Regions from separate parts of the Homo sapiens genome. Here region 2 is linked to region 1. Evidence: promoter capture Hi-C in human tissues and cell types (Jung and others, 2019). All regions are on one chromosome and are shown on one strand. The core of a region is centred on a gene start or on the middle of the fragment in contact, and the rest is flanking DNA. Distances in the headings are between cores, read along the strand shown. Region 1 holds the start of OR2AT4 (olfactory receptor family 2 subfamily AT member 4). Region 2 holds the start of KLHL35 (kelch like family member 35).

The links. The method cuts DNA at HindIII sites, captures the fragments that hold promoters and counts their contacts. A contact is called where the count stands out against the background at its distance.
Region 2: a contact is called between the fragment with the promoter of KLHL35 here and the fragment with the promoter of OR2AT4 in region 1, in 1 of the 25 tissues and cell types used here (H1 embryonic stem cells).

The regions. Positions count from the first base shown.
Region 1 is chr11:75,094,339-75,098,651 of GRCh38, forward strand. It overlaps OR2AT4 (olfactory receptor family 2 subfamily AT member 4), which reads right to left and starts at 2,538. Exons shown (of 2, transcript NM_001405852.1): 1 at 2,490-2,538. RefSeq lists a cis regulatory region at 2,397-2,912. The HindIII fragment of the contact is 12,596 bases long and covers 1-3,330 here.
Region 2 is chr11:75,430,658-75,434,970 of GRCh38, forward strand. KLHL35 (kelch like family member 35) reads right to left here and starts at 2,546. Exons shown (of 7, transcript NM_001039548.3): 1 at 2,386-2,546. GDPD5 (glycerophosphodiester phosphodiesterase domain containing 5) reads right to left here. Exons shown (of 17, transcript NM_030792.8): 17 at 3,983-4,313. RefSeq lists an enhancer at 1,184-2,070. The HindIII fragment of the contact is 12,939 bases long and covers 1-4,313 here.

The sequences.
Region 1 (4,313 bases), core at 1,288-3,787:
TTGGCTGATATTGTCAGCAGCAAACTACAAATTTCAGAGTTTGTTCTTTAGTTTCCTAAGTGTGGGGTGGGCTGGTTTTCTGTCAGAGAGTGAAGGCAGGTATAATGTCTTTCTAAAAGACATATGAGGCAGGGCACAGGGGTTCACACCTGTAATCCCAGAACTTTGGGAGACCAAGGTGGGAGAATTGCTTGAGACCAGGAGTTTGAGGCCAGCCTGGGCAACATAGCAAGACCCTGTCTCTACAAAAAAATTTTAAAACTAGCCAAGTACAGTGGCTTGTGCCTGTGGTCTCACTACTCAGAAGGCTGAGGCAGGAGGATCACTTGAGCCCAGGAGTTCAAGACTGCAGTGAGCTATAATCATGCCACTGCACCCCAGCCTGGGCAACAGAGGGAGACCCTGTCTTTTAAACAAAACAAATAAACAAAAAGACACATGGGACAGACCACTCCATTGTGAATGCTCCCTTGAAAGAGTATTCTACAGTTCGGCCCCAATTACACAAGCAGGAAAGCAAAACTGCTGCACCTCCACTTAAGAGATAACCCTCAGTTAACAGACCCAACCTGCCTAAGCAAATCACCAGGTTTTTCTAATACCCAAAGAGATGCAAACTACCTTATTCTGAACGTTGTTACAGCTCAGAGAAGTCAATTATGGATTGAATGCCACCGAGTTAGGCTGAATTGGGGTTTGAGGGGAGAAATTCAGAGCCGTCAAGCCTGACTGAGCCTCTCTTCCCACCTCCTCCCTCACTTCTATTAAACAGCAGGGAGACAGATGCTGAGTCTGAAGTCCAGAAATAGTGTCTTTTCAAGGTCAACCAACAAATTCATAGCAGAAGTAGGTTTTAAAGCCGGTGTCCTGGCTCCCACCCAGTCTTTGTAGGATGTTTCATGAGAGAGGATGATTCCTTAGCCTGCTATTCAAAGCCTGTCTTCTTGCAGCCTTGTTTCTCCTTATTCTAGTCAAATGGCAACTCCTTGCTCTTGCCTTGTGCTTCTGCCAAATTCAGCTCAAATATTACTTCCTCCAAGAGATCTTCTATGGTCCTGGCTGGCTCAGGAGCCTCTTTCCTGGGCTCTTGAAGTTCCTGTGCTTCTGTTTGTCATTATTATGATTACACCAGGTTGTCTCTGTCTATTTATGTGTCCACCACACCAGGAGCACTTTCAGAGCAGTAATGGGGTCTGATCGTTTCTATTTGATACTGCACCATCCTTCCCAGGAGCTTAGTGCTCTGGAATGCAGCTTTCCAACTTGCCTTGTTTTGCTGATAAATCATCAAATAGGAATGAAGGGGCCATTAGTGATTAAATAGTTTTCACCTAACCTCTTTTTTTTTTTTTTTTTTGAGATTGAGTCTTGCTCTATCACCCAGGCTGGAGTGCAGTGGCACGATCTCGGCTCACTGCAACCTCTGCCTCCCGGGTTCAAGCGATTCTCATGCCTCAACCTCCCGAGTAGCTGGGATTACAGGCGCTTGCCACCATGTCCGGCTAATTTTTGTATTTTTAGTAGAGATGGTGTTTCACCATGTTGGCCAGGCTGGTCTTGAAGTCCTGATCTCAAGTGATCTGCCCGCCTCGGCCTCCCAAAGTGCTGGCATTTCACCTAACCTCTTTATTATATAGATGGGGACAGAAAAGGGAGTCCCAGAAATGGGCTGTGACTTTCCCAAGGTCACACAGTAAGTGGGTGATAGAACTAGAACTAGACTGTCAACAGAGCTAGATTATCAACTCACCTTGAGCTCTCCTGGACCAGCTCTGCCACTCTCTTGCTGTGATGCTGGGTCTCTGAGCCTCAGTTTTCCCATCTATAAAATGAGGACTTTGGAAGCAATGATCTCCAGCTTGATAAATATTTTGAGTATCTACTCTGTGTTTAGATAAATGAGAGATTCGAAGACAGATGTGTCATGGCCTCAGCCTCTTAGGAAGGAGAGCAAGGGCGCTCTCATTTGTTAAGCTTCTGTTGCCTGCTTGATTCTTTACAGTCATTACACATCATTACGACGCCCAAACTCATGCAGTTCTCTCATGATATTCTCACCATCCTGCACTGTTTCCATAGAAAAGGAGCAGGATATACGTGAAGCACAGAATCTAGGTCTATTAACTTTGCAGTTAGAAAGGCCTGAGTTTCCTTCCTGGCTCCACCACTTTGTGCTTTCCTCCAATGGACTGCAATTCCCTCACAAATTATTCCCATTTCTCTTATCGTCATCAGCTTTGCCTCCTTGTGAGGAATTCTCTTCCAAGATCATTAGCCTCTTGCTTGTGACTGCACAGCCCTGCCCCTGCCTGCGAGGGTGTCTGGTCTACACTCACCCAGGCTGACTGCGTGGTTGACTTGGATCCTGGGACCCTGACATTCCCAGGATCTTTACTGTGGTTGTACATGCCCCCAACCTCCCTGAGCCTATCTCCCCATCCCAGTCTCTGCCTGCTCTGCGCACTCCATCCCCAGCCCAGCTCACCTACCAATCCTGGTCCGCCTTGATGTCTTGTGTAGAGTCGTCACAGTTGGCCTTGGTTGGGAAGAGCCAGGTAGAAACTCAACCATGGCCCTTTAAACCCTCGGGCCCCTCTCTGCAACCAGGCCTGCTGGGGCTCTCTCCCCACAAGAAGGCTCACCCGTGGGACCAGATAACTGCCAGTCAGCTGAGAACAACTTCCGAGGGTGGAGTGGGGGACTTTGTTCTGGGCTTTGCTGATAATGAAAACAACATCATTAACAACCCTCATGGGTCCCAGAACTTTATCACCAGTATTATTCCTGTTTTCCCATCTGGTCCTCACAATAGCCAGGGAAGACAGGCAGAGTCAGGATTATTTCCACTATTTTACATTTGAGGAAACTGAGATCTAGAGAAGTGAGGTGACTTGCCCAAGGTCATATGAGTGGCTGGTGGCAGAGCTGGGATTTGTACCCAAGGCTCCAATTCTGGTTCAGTGGTTCAGCAACATGTTATCTAATGACTAAGACCCGAGTTATTCCCAGTAATATGACTTTGAACAAATCCCTTAACCTCACTGGGTCTTCATTTTGTCATCTGTGGAATGGGTATAACGACACTAACTCTCTCACAGGATAACTGGGCAGGTTGAGGTGCTTCACCCAGTTCCTGCCACTTATTAGGCATTCAATAAGTGGGAGCTATTATTTTAATGGACCAAAGCAGTAAAGCCTTGTTCAATGAGTATGTGATACTTCCGCTGCTGTGCAATGAGAACTTGCAAAGGTTTTGTGGAAAGAATGTGAGGGTGGAAGTCTCTGCCCCAACCCCATACAGGACAAAGTCAAGAGTCACAGACTCTTCCTGCCTCAATCTTTCTGATTCTCTCCTTTGGCTCCAGTGTTCTGTTTCTGACTTGACTGACTTGGTCACTCCTACTAATACTCATAAAATTTTAATTTTTTTTTAATTTCACAAGTAATAAACAGAACCTCATTGTAGAACATTTTAATCAATACAGAGCTTTACTGAGTCAAAAGTGAAAGTTCTAGGCCGGGTGTGGTGGCTCACGCCTGTAATCCCAGCACTTTGCCGGGCCGAAGGGGGAGGATCTCTTGAGTCCAGGAGTAAGAGAGCAGCTTGGACAACTGGCAAAACTCTATCTCTACTGAAAAATACAAAAAAATTAGCTGGGCATGGTGGCATGCACCTGTAGTCTCAGTGAGAGGTGACAGCGTGCTGGCAGTCCTCACAGCCCTCGCTCGCTCTCGGTGCCTCCTCTGCCTGGGCTCCCACTTTGGCGGCACTTGAGGAGCCCTTCAGCCCACCGCTGCACTGTGGGAGCCCCTTTCTGGGCTGGCCAAGGCCGGAGCCGGCTCCCTCAGCTTGCAGGGAGGTGTGGAGAGAGAGGCGCGAGTGGGAACCAGGGCTGCGCCTGCGCTTGCAGGCCAGCTGGAGTTCTGGGTGGGCGTGGGCTTGGCGGACCCCACACTCAGAGCAGCCGGCCGGCCCTGCTGTCCCCAGGCAATAAGAGGCTTAGCACCCGGGCCAGCGGCTGTGGAGGGTGTACTGGGTCCCCCAGCAGTGCCAGCCCACTGGCGCTGTGCTCGATTTCTCTCTGGGCCTTAGCTGCCTTCCCGCGGGGCAGGGCTCGGGACCTGCAGCCCGCCATGCCTGAGTCTCCCACCCCCTCCCTGGGCTCCTGTGCGGCCCCCGCCTCCCCGATGAGTGCTGCCCCGTGCTCCACAGCACCCAGTCCCATCGACCACCCAAGGGCCGAGGAGTGTGGGCGCATGGCTCCGGGACTGGCAGGCAGCTCCACCTGCAGCCCCGGTGCGGGACCCACTGG
Region 2 (4,313 bases), core at 1,296-3,795, 340 kb after region 1:
CGGGGAAGCCACCTGGCTGCGCCCGGGAGAGGCGACAGCCCTCATCCGTTTATTTCCTCTCTTGACCATTTGTTCAGCGACTCTCCCCTCCGTTCAGCATCCAGGTTCCTTACGGCTACAGTGCCCCAGCCCCGCCTCACCAGCGCGACATTCTGCCCTGCCTACCCACTCAGACACAGTGCCCTTTTCGGTTCTTCAAACTTGCTAAGCGTTTTCCTATCGATATCTGCAGGTAACAGATGGCACGCTCTCAAACAGGGTAATCGGAGGAGGGTCTAATAAAGGAACTATTTTCAACAGCGGAGTAGGCGTTAGGGACTCCAGTAGGAGTAGGGCTGTGTCCCAGGATACTAACAGCAGGGCGCCTTGGCCGCCCCGGGGTCTGTAGCGGGAGAGCAGGGAAGTTACTGGAACCTGGAAATATATCTGTGTAAGGAGGGTCCCGTGACAGGAGCTGAAGCCCTGGGTCAAGGGACTCAGGCTGCCCCACAGAGACCCAGTGTGTGCATGTGCAGGGGAGAGAGGGTACAATAACTCCACCGCCCTCTGCTCAATCCAGCCTGTCTCCTGCCGATCTCCGGTAGGTGCTGGACACTGACCACACCCTGAGCACTCCCCTGACAGACAGCATCATACACACAGCTTTCGCGCAAACGAATTCGACAAGTATTTATTGGGAGCCCTTTCTGTGCCAGGCAGTGAGCAAGACAACCATAGTTACGGTGTGCCCGGAGCTCCCAGCCTGGCGGGGGTGCCATGGGGAGGCACCGGGTGTTAGGGGAGTTCATAGAAGGGCCGCTGGACCCAGGTGGAGGGGAGTCAGGGAGGGCGTCCCTGAGGGGAACCTTCCAGCTGAGAAGGATGGGCGAATTCTGAAAGGTTAGAGCCCAGGCTGAGGGAAGCTGGCCCTCTCTCTAGTGAGTTCTCTTGGTGTTCTCCAGGTAGCACCGTCAGAAAGTGGAAAGAACTCTAGGGACAAATGGGGATTCTAACCCAGTGCCTGCCACAGGCTTACGGTGTGGCCGGGGCAAGTCACTCCTCTCACCTGCCCGCCCTGGCCTCAGTTATCTCATCTGAAATGGGATCATCATCCCTACCTCACAGGGCTGTGGCTTCATGACTATTACATGGGCTGTATGAAAAGTGCTAGTACACAGTACGAGCTACATGGGTGTTTCCCTATATTGCTTTTACTCAAGAGGAAGGGAGGACACTGTGTGTGCCAGTTGCTTTTATAGACATAATTTAATTTCATCCTCACAAGCTGAGAAGTTTCTTTAGCCCACACCTGCCCCTTTAGTTTGTCATAAGGGAAACAAGCACACACAGGACACCCGCCCTTCAGAAGTTTGCGGCGAGGCTCAGCAGAGGGGTGTTTGTGAAGGCGCTCTGCAGACTGAGGGGCTGGGCCATGCTGGTTATGATTTGGCCATTATGAACACAAAACCTCTGCTTGCACACCTCCAGGGACAGGGAGCTCCCTCCTTTCCATCAGCTTACTCTAGGGGGCTCAGGTCCACCCTCTGCGCCCTGCCTCTCCTTCCATCCTCCTGCTCCCAGCTGCTCTGCTGCCTCTGGAGGTCAGATCCCGCCTAGTGTCAGCCTGGCTTTCATGCCCTGGTCATCCAGGGCAGCGGATCCCCTGGTCAGCATCATGAGAGATGAGCTCCCTGGTGGGCAAGAAAGTTAACTACTTTTGCCCAAGTAGAGCGACTGGATCCTGAATCCACCTGGCTCCAGGGTTTGCATGCCACACTTGCCAGGGTGGGGGTGTGTCCCAAGGAGCAGCCAGGACCGGTGGAAGGAAGTGAGACCGGTCATCACAGCACGCTGCAACCAGTCTGTCCTCCACTGGCTCAGAAAGCACAACCATGCTCTGAGTTGAGACTCAAGAGGGCAGGTCTCATCAGCATAAGGATGGACTTCTTGCAAAGGTGCCCCACAGCACAAGCAGCTCCCTGGGGGAGAAAGAGTCCCCTCCTAGGAAGTGTGTCAGTACTTTTTCATTTTACTGTCTACTGCGCTGGGCACTCTGGACACACAGTGACATCAGATCCAGCATTCACTCTGGGGATCCCCAGTCTGGGGGTCAAACGACACCCAGTTGGAACACAGAAGGTAAAAATTCCCAGGTAGGGCTCAATGGGTATCCTCCCTTCTCGGCTGAGTCTAGGCACTTCAAGCCAGGGGTCATGATGCAGATTGAAGGGCCCAGCCTATAGAAGCTGACTCGAACATGCCACCATCACTCTTTTACACACCCACATCCACTTGAAGCCATTACCCAAGCACCTCCTCCGCATCCTCCCCATCTCAGACTTGCGGACACCACGCAGCCGGGTCAGCCCTGCAGCCTAAGCCTTGCCCCATGCACCTGGCACTTACCTGGCCATACCCTCTCCCAAGTGCTCCGCAGCTGCTGCTCTCACAGGTATCACTCCCGTTTGTGCCTGCCGCCCGCACCCCTGGCAGCCCAAGCTCCAGTGTTCATGCTGCTCTGCCCAGACTCCCGTTTGCTGTTCGCTCGGGCTCAGCTGCGGGAGGACAAAGGGGCTGGACGCCAGGAGGGAGGGGAAGGGAGGGGAAGGGAGAAGCGAGCAGGGAGGGGGATGCTGGGCTTTTGTTCCACTCTTGGACTAGCCCTGGGAGGGAGGGAAAGAAAGGGGGGGCATAAGAGTGGGATTGACTGTGTGTGGAACTCCAGGATTTGGTATGCCTGGGTTTGGGGGTGACCTGGTGCTGGCCTTGTCCCGGAATGACGATGGGTTCGAAGGTGTGTGGTGCTGGAGTTGGGGTGTGGGAGGGGTGTCATCATGCAGTTGTAGGCATGTAGGTTTCAGGGTGACTATGCGTGATTGTGGAAGTACATGGAATGAAGTGACTGTGTAGCATTGGGCTGCGTGTGGACATGTGGCTGTGTGACCATGTAGATGCCAATGTGACTAAGCATGTGGGGCGGGGGGCACAGTGGCTCTGAGTCTCATTCCCTTGAGCTCAGGGAGAGGCGGGAGCTGACCTCTGCCCCAGGAAGCAGAGCACTTGCCAGACATTCAGTAGCAGGGGCAGGAGGGCCGGTCCTCGAGGTTACTGTGGGGGCCCAGTGGAGCTTCCAACATTTGCAGAGGGCTCTTTTCTTTTTTACCTATAAGGTGCCAGAATCTCCTAGACCCCAAGAATTCTATCCAGAAGATCCCTGTTTGGAAGAGACACGTCCCTTGGCTCCCAGGAAGCATGGAGTTAATTTGATGCAGGCTGGAGCTGGGGCTCAGCTTCCCCCTTTTCCCTCAGGTCACACCCATGACCAGGCAGACTCTCAGGACAAAGAGGGGAGTTACAGGCCTGCTCTGACACCACCACTGACTCCTGCCCACAGACAGCAGAGGTCCCAAGGACTGGAAGGAAAGGACACCTGTGGTCCCAGGGCTGTACTTTGGCTTTCAGCTCAGGTGCCCCCAGTCCTGGGCATGGGCATGGGCCCTCCTCAGGCAGGTCCAAAGCTCGGAGAAGTCAAAGCCAAACTCCTGGCATGGGGAAGAGGCCTCCCTGTGCTGAGGGCTTGTCCCAACATAGCCGGGAGGTTCAGAATGCCTTCATGTGGCTGTGAGGGCACCTGCCAGTCCCACTCCCAGCCCTACATTGGACCCAGGAGCCCTCCCCCTCTGCGTGTCATTCCTAGCTTATGGGAGGCACACATATGCGCTGGGGCCAGAGTCTGGATGGGATTCTGGCTTGGCCTGTTCTAAGCTGTGTGGCTTTTGGAGGTCACTTTACCTCTCCAAGACTGTCTCCCCATCCACCATATGAGGATACCGGCTCCCAGCCACTGGCACCATGGCGGACCCAGGGAAGGGGAGGCACCATTCTGCCACTTTCCCATTCATTCCTGAGAATGGTTCCTCCTCAGATTATAGGGTCAGAACTGAAACCTAGACCCAGCGCACTTGTCCCCACCCTCCTGCTGGCAATTCAGAGACAACACACATCAAGATGGCAGCTTTAATCACATTGGCCAAGGGCCCTAGGTTCCCTCTGTTCAGGCCCACTTAGCCACACACCCACCCTGGCCATATCCAGAACACTTCTACCAGGTGGGCCCTGCCCTGTGGCCACTGATGTGGGAACCTGAGGTCACATCAGTCTGTGGACTCCTGGGTTAGGTGACCCTTCTGCCTTGAGGTCTGCTGGACACCTGGGCATGGGATCCAGTAGTCCTGAGCTCACTCTTTTGGCCATCTCCAGCTGCTCCTAGAGGACGTGGCTCAGGCCCGCTCCTGGGGCAGGGGGTTGGCGGTGGCATGAGGTGGGTTGGGGAG